Linked DNA regions of Homo sapiens: region 2 is linked to region 1. Evidence: promoter capture Hi-C in 16 types of primary human blood cells and fetal thymus (Javierre and others, 2016). All regions are on one chromosome and are shown on one strand. Each heading gives the region's core, a stretch centred on a gene start or on the middle of the fragment in contact. The rest is flanking DNA. Distances are from core to core; before and after follow the strand shown.

Region 1 (7,409 bases), core at 2,206-4,705:
AATGACTGAGCCTTTATGAGCCTGTTTCCTCCTCTGAAAATGGGGATTATAGTAACAAGCAGAGAGAACAGGAGTGGTGGGTGGGTAGCGCCTTAAGTAGGTGTTGGTGCAGAGGACTCCATCCCATCTGGGCCACAGACCATCAGGAGGCACGTGGGGACTTGGGGACAAAGAAAACAAGCAGCCCATATCTGCCGGCAGGACCTGGCAAAGTGGGCGTGACACCAACAAGTTGCATCCCAGAGGTGACCACAAAGCGCCCAGGATTTGCAAAGCTAAGGTCAAGTGGAGGCAGGAGGAGACAGTTTCAGGAAACACCTGTGGCCTATCTCACCCGTGTCTTCCCTGGCCAGGGAAGGGCAGCCGCTTAAAGGGGCCAAGGGAAGCTGCAGCGTGGCTCCTAAACATGGACGCACAGTAGCTGTCCTCTCAGGAGCTCTGCACCCCCACTTAAAACCAGGATCACAAGAGATTTGTGTAAAGGAAGCCTCTTGTGCATTTCTTCATCTGAATCGTTGACTTAAAAGTTTCTTCCACGTAAGTCCTTTCACTTTAGCTTTGTATATATTTAGCATTGATTTCACAACAAACAACTGATTCCAGGCACTTGGTGTTTTCCCAGACCTTGAGCTTTTTCCAGGGTTGCACGTTATTTCCATATGTGGTACTTCGCGGCAGCCCCAGTATGGGGAAGCCATTTGCTGCCTTATGAATTGTCTGGTCATCCACTCGAGAGGAAAGGGCTGTGTCCAGGGCTGGGGAAGGCCCCAAGAGTGGTTCTTCAGGCCTACTGTTGGCAACAGCCCAGGAATGTGTGAAGTCTGTAACAACAAGCGTAGTAATAATAATTCCAGCTCTGCTAGTTGAACGCTCACTTTGTGCCAGCTACTTTTCTAAGAGTTCCACGATATGAACAATTTAATCCTCAAAGCCAACATCTGAGAAAGATACTACTATTCTTATCCCAATTTGACAGATGAGAAAACTAAGGCTCAGAGAGGCTTGTCTGCTGGTGATTTGTGTGTCTGGGAAGTGCACGTTGTCTGGCAGGCTTGCCTGGCAGAAGCGGTTCATGACAGGTCTTCTCCATTTTGGAATCAAGATCTGTGTCAGCATGGATGGCAAGGGGAAGAGTAAGGAAAGATTGGTCTAGGAGATGCCCAGGAGCTTTTGGCCTCACAGTGCAGGGTGGGGAGAGCAGACCTGGCCACCAAGGACCAGTTTCTGGGCTTGGGCAGAAGCCAATCATCTGGCTACTTTACAAGCAGATGGAGCTTCTTCCTCTCAGTAACCTTCCTGCCCTGGTGTCAATTCCATTTTCATTTTCATCTTTTATGGTACTGGTTGTGTGGAGAAAACTGAAGGCTCATTTGGTATAAGTAAGTAACTCATTTTTATGAGTTTGCTTGACATAGATACTAGACTGTATGTGTGTATATATACATATAAACATGCATATGTACATAAAAAATATATATATATCATATATACATGATGATACACACACACACACACACACACACACACACACATATATATATATACGTATACAAGCATGCTTTACAAGGCCAATTGACTGGTCTACAATTGGCTGACACTTGGTGGCCTAGAAGCCAGGGTATGTGAGTCTCGCTTTTCTAGAAAGCTGACAAACTCTCCAGTTCCAAGGATCCTTGCTCAGTCAACGGCTGGAAGTCATTTTTACTTCGCTGTTTTTTGTTTGTTTGTTTGTTTGTTTTTTTAGACAAAGTCTCATTCTGTCACCCAGGCTAGAGTGCAGTGGCACTATCATGGCTCACTGCAATCTCCACCTCCTGGGCTCAAGCGATCCTCCCACCTCAGCCACCCGAGTAACTGGGACTACAGGTGCACACCACCATGCCTGGCTAATTTTTGTATTTTTTTAGAGACAAGGTTTTGCCATGTTGCCCGGGTTGGTCTCAAACCCCTGAGCACAAGTGATCCTCCTGCCTCGGCCTCTACAAAGTGCTGGAATTACAGGTGTGAGCCACTGCACTCGATCCATTCTTACTTACTTTCTTTACTTTATTTCCAAGCAAATGTTTGGAGGGAAACCAAGAGACTTGGATGCGGCCAGCCGAGGCCTTTGGGTTTACAATCACAAATGTTTTTGGTTTGCCCATGAAGGCCCAGGCTGCACTCTCTGATGTCACAGGAATCACCTCTCAAACCATGCACCAGGTCTTGAATTCCCTTAGGGTGTGATCTTTAGAGGTCCATCTAGGTATACCCACCCAAGCCATTCTTTGACTGCTGACAGGCCTTCCTTCATAACAAGGTGTTCCACAGTCCATTTATATATGGATGTCATCTCTGCCCACCCTGCTGCCAATTTGGTTTTCTCCCACTCCTGGGGTGTAAGGCAAGATGAAACATATCACATCCCGTTCTAAACTTTATTCTTGTGGCCAGGGGTCAGCAAACTTTTTCTGTAAAGGGCCAGATGGCAAATATCTTAGGTTTTACAGGCCAAGAAGCAAATTTGGCATATTATGTAGCTACTTATATAGTAAAATAAAAATTTCCACAATTATGTAATTGATGAAACTCAAAATGTAATAATAATAATCGAAGGCAGTTTTTTTGTAGTATAGGTTTAATAATGAGAAGAATGGAATCATTTTTGGAGGTGCTAACATTCTGCTTGGTTGGAATTTAAAGTTAGTGTTCTGTATCAGCAAATCCATTGCCAATGTTCATCTAAAAATGTTTTCACTTCTGGGCCGGATTTCGTTCAAAGGCTGCAGTTTGCTGACCTCTGCTCTTGGTTACACCTTTTGAGGCCCTTGCTCTCCGAGCATAAAATGGAATCCATTTATCAGACTAAATCGGGAAGATTAAATTTTCCAGCCTCACGAATGCTCAGCCATTGACTCACTCGTTCATACAATGAACACTCATTGAGCTTATACTACATGCCAGGTGCTGGAGGAGGCATGGGGCGCCCAGGAGAAAGATGCTCGCTTTGCGGCCACAGCCCAGTGGGAGGGAGACCCATACCTACCGGTGCTGTCTCAGAAACTTGTGGAACAAAGATGAAGCAATGTTCATGTTATTCGCCTACATCTGTGAATTACACAAGGAAGACGAGTTTGAGAAATCCGAAGTTCAGTACAAATTTATGGTAACTTTTTTAAAAAAGAATACACTGAAGTTTTCTTAGTGAATGGAATAATGTTCCCTTTTTCTCCCCTGTACACACAAATACACAAAAACTAACAAAAATACGTCGTGTGTGTCTGATTTGGGTTGTATTTAAATCATTTCATAAATGACTTTTTCCCATAACTTCAGTTTCAAAGTTTTAAAGCACAGTCAATTAATGATTTGGCAACAGCTAAGAAATCACAAGTTCCCTTCTTTTCATGTAAACTTCTGTAAAACACACGCTACGTTCTGCTGATGGTAAATAGAGCCATTTCAGGAAGTTAGCCAGTTTCTCTTCTCGGCCACCTCCTGCATAGAGGGTACCATTCTGCGCTGCTGCAAGTTACGGAATGAAAAATTAGAACAACAGAAACATGGTAAGCCACTTCTATTTCTTTAGCAAAGCTTTCCAACAGAATATGGGGTTTCTGACCCAGAAATCTGGGTTGGTGGCAAATGGTGTGAGCCTAGAAAGTAATAAATGGGCAAATAAGGATAAAAATTAAAGATCGAAACAACTGTAAATGCAGGTAAAGCGGCTTGCTATGATCTTTAATTTGTGCACACGTTAGTATAAAGGAATTAGAGAGTAAATTTTGAAAATCAAATGCAGTGATGATCTTACTAATTTGGACAGGAAAATAAGAAAATTTCAAGTTAGAAATTGAACTGGAAATATTACTTACTGGCCCTACCAGAGACAATATCCTCTTCCAGAACAACAGGGTTGGAAGAGAAGGTGAGGGAAATATTCTTCCTTTGCTATTTCTGTAGAAAAGGACAAACTCTCTTCCTTCACATACATAGGTCAATTGCTAGATCCTAGTGAAGCCTGAGCTTAACCTACTGTTGGAGGCTTAAAGTTCGACATTAATTGCTACTTTTCTTGGTCAGAGTTTTAAATAATTAGGTTGGTACAAAAAACTGTGATTACTTTTCCACCAACCTAATAACATGCTACAATTTCTGTAATTATTATTTTACACTGTCAAGACATAGCAGGTGGTCCGTTTTTGTTATTGTCAAGAACTGTCAGACTAAAAATGAACTTTACACTTCTTTTTAAATGATACATTTTCTAGAAAATTCAATGAGGTTTAAGAGCAATTGAAAAGTCTGATTTCAAGAGAGTCTCATCCAAAATGTACTATATATTTTTCCCCAAAGTCCTTGGAGTTAATTTTGACAACAATTTAAAGTACACTTAAGTCTTTTGAAGTTAATGGGTCTGCCACCCAGGTTGGAGTGCAGTGGCGTGATCTCAGCTCACTGCAACCTCCGCCTCCCGGGTTCAAGCGATTCTCCTGCCTCAACCTCCCAAGTAGCTGGGACTACAGGTGTGTGCCACCACGCCTGGCTAATTTTTGTATTTTTAGTAGAGACGGGGTTTCTCCATGTTGGCCAGGCTGGTCTCGAACTCCTGACCTCAGGTGATCCGCCTGTCTCAGCCTCCCAAAGTGCTGGGATTACAGGCATGAGCCACCGCGCCCGGCCTGAAGTTAATTTTTATACCCACCTAATGTTCATTATGGATCTTGAAGGTAAATTAATTCTGCACTAAAATTTTACAATGCTTTACAAAATGACTGTAGGTGGCCCATATGGAATTCGGTCAACTGGGCCAATGACACATATGGGATTGCAGTTGAAATTATCCAATTCCTACTTGATATTTGTAAGCTGCTGTGATAGCCAGTATAATTGTACTGTAAGAATGTGGTAAATAGCCGGGGCCCGGTGGCTCACGCCTATAATCCCAGCACTTTGGGAAGCCGACGTGGGCGGATCACTTGAGGTCAGTAGGTAGAGACCAGCCCGGTCAACACGGCAAAACCTCGTCTCTACTAAAAATACAAAAATTAGCCAGGTGTGGTGGTACGCACCTGTAGTCCCAGCTACTCAGGAGGCTGAGGCAGGAGAATCGCTTGAGCCCATGAGGTGGATGTTGCAGTGAGCAAAGATCGCACCATTGTACTCCAGCCTGGGCAACGGAGTAAGACTCTGTTTCAAAACAACAACAACAACAACAACAACAGATTGGTAAATAGAGTAATAATAAAATCAAATTAAACTTGCAAAAAATGGCCACTTTGCTCCCACTGGTGGCCAATGGAGGTCAAGGACCTGGCTGACCTCCTGCCTAAAGGCAGAGGTTGTTAGCCTTCGCAATGGACTCAAATCAGAGGGGGAGCTTTCAAAACTCCTGCTGCCCAGACTGAACCCCAGATCAATGAAACCAAAATCTCTGGATACAGGGCTTGGCATTTGTAGCTTTTAGAGTTCCTAAGTATCTCTACTGTGCAGCCAAAGTTAAGAATCAGTGCCTTAGAACATCAACAGTTTTTTGGTCCTTTTGTTAAAAAGCACAGTCCGTTTTTTTAGGTGGCTAGAAATGCTCCAGGAAGAGCTGAAATGTATTTACCAGCCACCTTGGTTTGATTTTAGAAAGCAAAATAGAAGTTCTAAGTATGCTTTCTCTGAAAAGCTGAGACTGCAGATAAGAGTGAGGGCAGTTGATGGAGTTCATTCTCCTCTTTCAATCACTGCTTCTCATCCTTTCATTATAATAATCTAAGAATCTCAGAGATTATGAAAGAGAAAGCAGTCTTATGGAAGACCCCAGACTCACAGAATATTAGGGTGTGTTTCACAGGGAAGGATGTCATTACCCACAGTTAGTCTTTGAAACGCAGTTGGACATTATTTGTAAGTGCATCATAGTGTCGCCTCCAGGTTCCATTGAGGGGAACGTCATTCCAATGCAACATCTCTGAGTTCATCTGGGTTATTAAATGGGGTTGAGGGATTTGTTATTTTTAAATTAGTAGCCCCAATTTAGGACTACTCAAGACCATAGGACAAGCCTGTCCAACCCTCGGCCTGCGGGCTGCATATGGCCGAGGACAGCTTTGAATGCAGCCCAAGACAAATTCATAAACTTTCTGAAAATATTATGCATTTGTTTTTTAGCCCATCAGCTACTGTTAGTGTTAGTGTATTTTATGTGTGGCCCAAGACAATTCTTCTTCTTCCAGTGTGGCCCAGAGAAGCTGAAAGATTGGACACCCCTGCTATAAGACACAGTAATATAAATACATAACCTGTGGTTCTGGATTGGCATTAGCAGATACAGGCTGTGTTGATTTTGCAGAAAGTTACAAAGAGCTGCTAGTTGGTGTGTATGTCTAAAATCAGTAGATTTCCTGTGGTTCTAAGGAATGACAAAGAATCTGGAAGTTCTCTGTGGTAGCCTGCTCAGTGCAGAAAGGGAACGTGGAAAATCCGCCACCAGCATTTGAGTCTTGGAGGTTCCACATAGGGCTATCAGGTCTCTGCTGATCACTGAAACCAGATCATGGCCAACTAGCCCCTTGGCTTCAGCCCTCCCAATTCATTAACTACTCAGGTAAATCTAGGGTCACTTTCAACTCTACCACCTACCATCTGAGTGACCTTGAAAACATTCATCTCTCTGAGCCTCAGGTCCCATGTCTGTAAAGCAGGGGCCTCATGGACTTCTTTGGGTTTTTTTGTTTTTGTTTTTGTTTCTGAGGATTAAACAAATGCTCCCTACCCTATTTCCCAGCATCCAGTAACACAGTTTTTCATATTTTTGTGTATGTTAAGTCAGGACCCATCTCTTTAATGATAAGTGCACTTAATGTGGTCATGTTTTCTTTTGTCTTCCAAAGCTGTTAGTGAATCCATTGAATTTGGGATGGGTAAAATAAAGTATCTATTATTAATTGTAAATTTCATCTAAAGTGACAAATCCTACCTGCATAACCATTTCTTAATTTCCTTTCATCATGTATCAGTGGTCAACATTGTTAACTGCGAATGAATCAGAATCCATCAAAAATTAGAACTATTTCCAGTCTGGCAAAAATTCAGCTCTGGTTGAATCCAAACATTGTGCTGAAGCAGCTAAGTAATTCAACTGAGGAGATTAATTACATGTTATAATCAATAGGTTCTCTTGACACTTCAGTGTTAGGGAACATCAGCAAGACCCATCCCAGGAGACCTTGAAGGAAGCCTTTGAAAGGGAGAATGAAGGAGTCATCTTTGCAAAATAGCTCCTGCAGCCTGGGAAAGGAGACTAAAAAGGTAAAAAGCTGTTAATTCCAGGAAGACAGCTTTACGCCCCTCCCAGACCACCTGCACTGCACACTACGTGGAATTTATTTTAGTCTCACATGGCAGCGTCCCTACCTTTGTGCCCACACATCTGGTCTCCG
Region 2 (7,409 bases), core at 708-3,207, 110 kb before region 1:
ACTTTGGCTAAAGAATTCCACTCTGCAGTGTTTAATGCAGAAGTCTGAGAGGATGGTCTAGGGCTCTGGAGAAGGATAGAGCTAGGTTTGAGTGTTGCAGTATTTTGCCAGTCTTGTTCAAGTTTCAGTCGCTGTAAGAACACGAGAAGAAGAATAGTTTTTGTTCAGAAGGTGTCGTCATATAAGTAAAGGAGAAATTTGTTGATGAAGTAAATTTTGAAAGCAAATATGTTGCCCTTCCAGGTACTCAGTGCAGCATGATCTTTTGCTAAGGAGCATGGTTAATCTAGATCAGTTCACTGCTAAGTCAGTGTTGAGTTTCTCCTAAAAATACCACATGTGCCACTGGGCAAAACTCACTCAGACACTGAAGTATGATTGTTTATACATTTGGTTCAAATATAAAGCAGACTCACTTTTATTTTGTTTTTGGCATTTTATAACCATCACTTGATAATTAGAAATCGTGGGACCTCAAAAACCACTCAGCATGAAGTTTGGGAATTGCCTATATAGCTACATTTTATGTTTTTAATGTATAGAGTATAAAAGGTTCACTGCCTGACTTTTCTCTTTTCCATGAACTGTACAAGTACAGAGCTTAATTTTTATAAACAGCCCTCTCTGGACCAGTTACTGTGCTAGGAATCCAGCTTTTAGCTGTGTAATCGTAGAGAGGAAAAACTGAAGGGCAAAATGAAGACAAAATTGATTCAGTTCATGTAAGGGCCCCTTCTTGAATCTGTCACTGAACTAGGATCAGAAATCTGGTTTGCTGTCTCCTGGCCATCAATCCTCCCATTTTGCGTTTTTTATATGCTACTTTACTGAACATAGAGCCTTCCAATTTTACCTTCTTATCCCTAAATCATTTCAGATATGCAGGGAGAGGTCCGCTCCAGCTTCACTATAGACCATGGAAATTCCATGATGACATCTTAGGACAGCAGGTGTCTAGATGTCTCTGTTGTAACATTTTACTATGGTCAGTTAACCTGCTGGCAGAATCTTTAGCTATACTGTGAGACAAGGTTATGCAAAGTTATACAAGGTTATCGGTTACCATGTAATAAATAAAGAGCTTAATGGCTTAAAACAGTAATTGTTGATTTGGCTTACAAATCTGCAATTTGGGAAGGGCTCAGTGAAGAAAGCTTGTTTTTGCCGCGTATGGTCACAGCTGAGGCTGGTCACAGCTGAGGCGGCTAACTGGGGCTGGAGGGTTCTTGAAGATGGCTCACATGACTGAAGTTGTTACTAGCTTTTGCCTGGGAGCTTGGTTAGGAACCTCAGCTCCTCTTCTTGTAGGCCTCTCCATGGGGCTGCTTGAGCTTCCTTACAGCATGGAAGCTGGGTTCTAAGAGCACATGTTCCAAAAGACAGGACATTGAAGCCACCAGTCCATTAAGGACTGGGCTTGCAAGTTGGTGTATCATAATTTCTGTCATATGCTGTTGGGCAAGTACAGAGCCCTCTCAGATTCAAGGGCGGGAGACTAGACCCTGCTCCTTGATGGGAAATGTGTTAAGAGTCTGTGGCTATCTTTTAGTTACCATGCCCGTTTATTGTTGAGTCAGTGACGCTCTTCAGCGTTTTTATTTGGGGGTCAATAAAGATCCTCTGGCAGAATGGCAAATGGATGCTGCCTTCTAGCCACAATTTTTTAAAGACCTAGAATAAAGGTAGTCATGATCATCTTTTTGAGTAGAAGCAGGACTAGCTTTAGGGGAAAAGTTGCCATGGTGATGATATTCTCTGTCCTCCCCTGGACTGCTAGTCATATGAGAACTGAGGTTCCTGAGTAAAAACAGGCCAAAGAATCTAATCTTGTGGGATAAACGTCATAAGACCAGGAGTTGGCAAAGTTTTTCTGCAAAGGGCCAAATCGTAAATATTTTAGGCAGTGCTAGCACATGTAGTCTCTGTTGCTGCGGTATCTTACAGTTCTGTAAGTTACGGTAATGTCTGTCACAGGTTAGCAGGGCTGTATTCTCTTCTGAGGCTCTAGGGGAGAATCTGTTCCCGTGCCTTTTCCGGTTTCCAGAGGCAGCCCACATTCCTTCACTATTGGCCTCTTCACCTTCAATGTCAGCAACAAAATGTTGCTCTGACCCTGCTTCTGCTGTCTCCCTCTTGCATTTTTAAGGGCCCCATGATTACAATGGGCCAATTTAAATAATCCAGGATAATTTCCCCATGTTAAGGTCAGCTGATGAGCAACCTGAATGCTATCTGCAAATTTACTTCCCCTTTGCCATATAAACTCACATATTCAAAGGATTAGGATGTAGACATCTTTAGGGGGCCATTATTCTGCCTACCACGCCATTCTTAACTCACAGGCCATAGAAAAACAGCCTATGTGCTGTGTTTTGTCAACCTCTCAGCTATATAATACTGTACTTGATTTCTGCTGTAGTTCATTTTGTGCTGCTATAACAGAATACCAGAGACTGGCTAATTTATAAACAATAGAAATTTGTTTCTCACAGGTCTGGAGGCTGGGAAGTCCAATACTGAGGGGCTGGCATCTGGCAAGGGCTTTCTTGCTGCATCATCCCATGGCAGAAGGGTGGAAGGGCAAGAGAGCATATTTGAGAGAGAGCAATAGAGGGCCAAATTTGCTAATATAATAAACCCATTCTCAAGATAATGAGCACACTCTAGCAATGATGACGTTAATCCGTTTGTGAGGACAGAGCCCTTATGACCTAATCACCTCTTAAAGGTCTCACCTGTCAATACTCCTATACTGGGGATTAAGCTTTCAACACATGAACTTTAGGGAACACATTTAAACCATAGCAATTTCCAAATTAAGTTTATGTCATAGTTGATGTAGTGTTCACAAAGCAGTTAGATTTAGCTCCTTAGATCTTCAAATAGGAGGGAGCACATAGAACTCTTTCTATCCCCCTCATCCTGTGAGGTTGGCATATTTTCATCCATAGTAGAAGGCGTGCAAGAAGATGTGTGAATGTTATCAAAACTAATTTTCACAACATGTCAACTTGAAAAACTTTATTTTTATTTTCCTTTTCTTTAAAATTTTTTTTAGAGACGGGGTCTTGCTATGTTGCCCAGGCTGGACTAGAACTCCTGGGCTCAAACAATCCCCTTGCCTCAGTCTCCCAAGTAGCTGGGACTGTGGGCATGAGCCACCATGCCCAGCCTGTTTTTAAATTTTCATTAGGTATAATTGGCTCTTTTTTTTTTTTTTTTTTTTTTTTGAGACAGAGTTTCACTTTTGTTGCCCAGGCTGGAGTGCAATGGTGCGATCCCAGCTCACTGCAAGCTCCGCCTCCCGGGTTCAAGTGATTCTCCTGCCTCAGCCTCCCGAGTAGCTGGGATTACAGGCATGCACCACCACACCTGGCTAATTTTGTATTTTTTAGTAGAGATGGGGTTTCTCCATGTTAGGCTGGTCTAGAACTCCAGACCTCAGGTGATCAGCCCACCTTGGCCTCTCAAAGTGCTGGGATTACAGGCGTGAGCCACCGCGCCCAGCCTTAATTGGCTCTTTTAAGAAAACAATTTCATTGAGTATCTGATAGCAGGAGAAGAGAGAAGGATAATTATTCATGTTCCTTATTTGTAATTTTAAAATATTTCATTTTGGGATGAATAAATTTACAGACAATTCTGCCATAATGTGACATATGTATTCCTAAAAATTACCACGCTATGCAAAATCAGGCAATCCAAAACCACAGGGCTTATGAGAAAAATGGGGTTAGGGACATAACATTCAAAAACTTCCTCAGTGACCCATTAAAAAATCATAGGAATGTTATATAGATTGAGCATCCCTTATCAGAAATGCCTGGGACAACAAGTATTTCAGATTTTTTTTTTTTTTTTTTTTTTTTTTGCATTTTGGAATATTTCTATTGTACTTACTGGTTGGACATTCCAAATCTCCAAAAATCCAAAATCCACAATGCTCCAATGACCATTTCCTTTGAGCATGATGTCGACACTCAGAAAGTTTCGGATTTCAGAATTTCGGATTAGGGTTCCTATCAAAATGGTAAAACACTGACATGTATTACATGCTCAAAAAATACTGGCTGGGTGCAATGGCTCACGTCTGTAATCCCAGCACTTTGGGAGGCTGAGGTGGGCGGATCACTTGAGGTCAGGAGTTCAAAACCAGCCTGGCCAACATGGCAAAACCTCCCTCCACTAAAAATACAACAAATTAGCCAGGCGTGGTGGTGCATGCCTGTAATCCGAGCTACTCGGGAGGCTGAGGCAGGATAATCACTTGAACCTGGGTGGCAGAGGTCGGAGTGAGCTGAGATGTCACCACTGCCCTCCAGCCTGGGCAACAGAGTGAGACTCTGTCTTTAAAAAAAAAAAAAAAATTACATAAATATTATGACAGAGATGGAACTTTCCATTGAAAAATGCCTGAGGTTTAGGGTTCTCTGAAATGACATGAAAAGTTGTGACACCAAATGTGAATGAGTGTGGCTCATTGTCCTCGAGGTGTGTACATGTGTATGTTTGTGTATTTCTAAGTGGCTCCATTCAGCTGGGTACACTGCAGTTTTCTGCAGTCTCGGGATAAGAGGTTGTGCATAAGAAAACATGAAATTCATGCTATGCTCAAATTGTTCCAAATAATATCAATCATTGGAACAAATTTGCCTTTTCAAAACATAGCAGAGCTGACCATCTTCTTGGTTTGGACGCAGAGCTCTGGGAAGGACATGCCTGAGCACACAGCACTATTTTCTGTTTCTTCCCACCAAAGGAATATGCCAGGGATGAGCTGGCTCTCCCTCTCATGTTGGACATCCAGAATTCTGTACCTGGAAATACAGAAACTTCCAGACATGCAATTTTCAAAAACTTAGCTGCTATTTACTCTTTCTCCAGAAGCTACGCAAGGATGCCAACCAGCAAAACAAGGAAGTATACCAAGAAAGAGGATACAGAAAATGGCAAATGGAGTGCAGGAGAGGGGGCAGGGAATCCCCGGATGGCAGCTGTGCACAGGCAGAGAGATAACCCAGGCCTGCCACCCCTGGGAGGGATGCCTGCAAGACGATGAAATGCAGATGGGACTTGAGGCCTCTGATCTTGGGAGATTTTGATTGTTAGTGAAGGGTTTAGGGTGGAATCTGGATTCAGGATTCAGAAAACTTAGCAGATAAAAAGGTAAGAGAATGACCTCCAGGGAAAATAAAAAGAAAAGATGTGCATAAAAAGAAAATACAAGCATTCGTTTAAGTTAATTGCATGGCAGAGCTCTGAGCAGCATTTGCGCAGTTAAAAACGTACAGTCAATCTTTAATGTGAATATTGATCTATATTGGGATGATGGCGAGATGGGAAGTTTACATTGCAAGTGATGGAACTGAATGGAAATGGAGTTCAGTCCTCATCTTCCATAGTGAGAAGTCAATACACTTTGCCTAAAATGAAAAATCAAGACACAGCAATACACACATAGTAGCTAGACTTGAAGGAAAGTATCCAAAAACCCTATCAAGAGTTGAAATTGGTGGCCTCTGGGCACTTTCTCTGTTATACGTCTTACAGAATGGTTTGAATTTTTTAAGCAATATGACTGTATAACTTTAATAAAAAACTAAAACTAAATGTAGTATTTTGCAGAAAAGAGTTAACATTAGCAGGCCTGAGACTTAGGCCTGTTCGCAAGGTTGGCCCTTGGCTGGCCTCTGGGAGCTTACATTTTGCAAGGGTACCCACCATTTCCCAGTAAGGATGGCTCACTGCATAAACTCTTAAACAATTGATAAACAATGTGGTTCATGCTGAATGCCTGTGAGTCTGACATTTTGGTACGTGCTAGGCAGAGGGTGCTTATATGACCAGCCCACAATACAAACCCTGGGACTTGAGTCTCTAAGCAGCTTCCCTGGTAGAGAGCCCTTCACACGTGTTGTCACAGCTCACTACTGGGGCATTAAGCTCTACCTCTGACTCCCCTCAGGGAGGAGTCTTGGAAGCTTGCACCCTGTTTCCCCCAACTTCACCCCATGCACCTTTTTCCCTTTGCTGAGTTTGCTCTGTGTCCTTTCTCTGCAATAAATTACAGCCATGAGTGCAACTATTAGGCTGAGTCCTATAAGTCATCCTGGTGATCATCAAACCTAGGGGTGGTCTCAGGGACGCCCAAGATGCAAATATGCTTCGATATTAACCGATGGCAGTTTTCTTTTCCTAGCGTGGAGATTGGTGAAAGCGTGAGAGGGGAAGATGTCTACATCATCCAGAGCGGCTGCGGGGAAATTAACGACAACCTGATGGAACTCCTCATCATGATCAATGCCTGCAAGATTGCGTCATCATCCAGAGTAACTGCCGTGATCCCGTGTTTCCCATACGCCCGACAAGATAAAAAGGACAAGGTAGGAGAGGTGTGTGCCCTAGAAACCTGCTGTGGGCCACTGTCAATGTTGTTTTTCCTCATTTATCCCCTTGATTAGAATTATCTGGAAAATGTTGGCTTTTTCCTTTGATGATCAAGTAAATATGCTTTCTTATTTTGTTTGTTGAAGATTTGGCTTTGAACCTACCCTGACATTAATATTCAAAGAAACAGGTAATGCATATTTTTGCAGGTATTAAAATACCATTATTGTCCTTGTTATAATGAAATTATTGTATGTCTTTGTGGTGGTGGATAGAACTAAATACACACACATACATGCACAAGAGTACAAGTCAAACTAGAGCACATCTGAATCAGATCACTGGATTGTATCAATTTCAGGGTCCTGGCTGTGATACTGTGTTATAGTTTCACAAGACGTTACCACAGGGAACTAGGTAAAAGGTTCACAGGATCTCTGCGTTGTTTCATACAACTGCATGTCTATCTACAATTCCCCCGAAATAAAAAGTTTAATTAAAAAAAAAACCCATGATCTCTTTTTAACCTTTTAAAAAGAACAGAAATAGTATCATTGAATTATGTTTTTCACAACATTAGCATCAGAGGAGGCTCTGTGAGTCTTTAGAAAAAAATTGAAGAAAATGTGGTTGGTCTTTGCCTTTCAGAGCAACAGAGAAATCGGAGGTTGAGAAGAACTTTGAAGGAGATTGTATTAGTTTTCTAAGCTGTCATAAGAAATTACATAAACCGCGTGGCTTAAAAGAGCAGAAATTTTTCCCTCACAGTTTCGGAGGCCCAGAAGTGTGAAATCAAGGAATGGGCAGGGGCACGCTCCCTCTGAAGGCTGTAAGGGAGGCTGCTTCCTCGCTTCTTCCAACTTCTGGTGTCTCCTTGCATTCCTTGGCTGTGGCTACATCACTCTGGTCCCTGCCTCTCTCTTCACCTGGCCTCTTCCCTGTGTCTCTTCTCTGTTTCTTATAAGGACACTGTCATTGGATTTCAGGCCTAACCTAATCCAGAATGAACTCAACTTAATCTT

What was found. The method cuts DNA at HindIII sites, captures the fragments that hold promoters and counts their contacts. A CHiCAGO score of 5 or more calls a contact.
Region 2: a contact is called between a fragment that was not itself captured here and the fragment with the promoter of TLR8 in region 1, in 1 of 17 cell types (monocytes). The highest score is 5.1, in monocytes.

What each region holds. Positions count from the first base shown.
Region 1 is chrX:12,903,165-12,910,573 of GRCh38, forward strand. It overlaps TLR8 (toll like receptor 8), which reads left to right and starts at 3,456. Exons shown (of 2, transcript NM_138636.5): 1 at 3,456-3,545. The coding sequence starts at 3,543. TLR8-AS1 (TLR8 antisense RNA 1) reads right to left here. Exons shown (of 5, transcript NR_030727.1): 3 at 5,052-5,169; 4 at 3,026-3,087; 5 at 1-821. The HindIII fragment of the contact is 3,594 bases long and covers 1-3,571 here.
Region 2 is chrX:12,793,008-12,800,416 of GRCh38, forward strand. PRPS2 (phosphoribosyl pyrophosphate synthetase 2) reads left to right here. Exons shown (of 7, transcript NM_002765.5): 2 at 6,200-6,383. Among named protein-coding and RNA genes, the nearest start is that of PRPS2, 5.3 kb to the left of the region's middle. The HindIII fragment of the contact is 1,610 bases long and covers 1,153-2,762 here.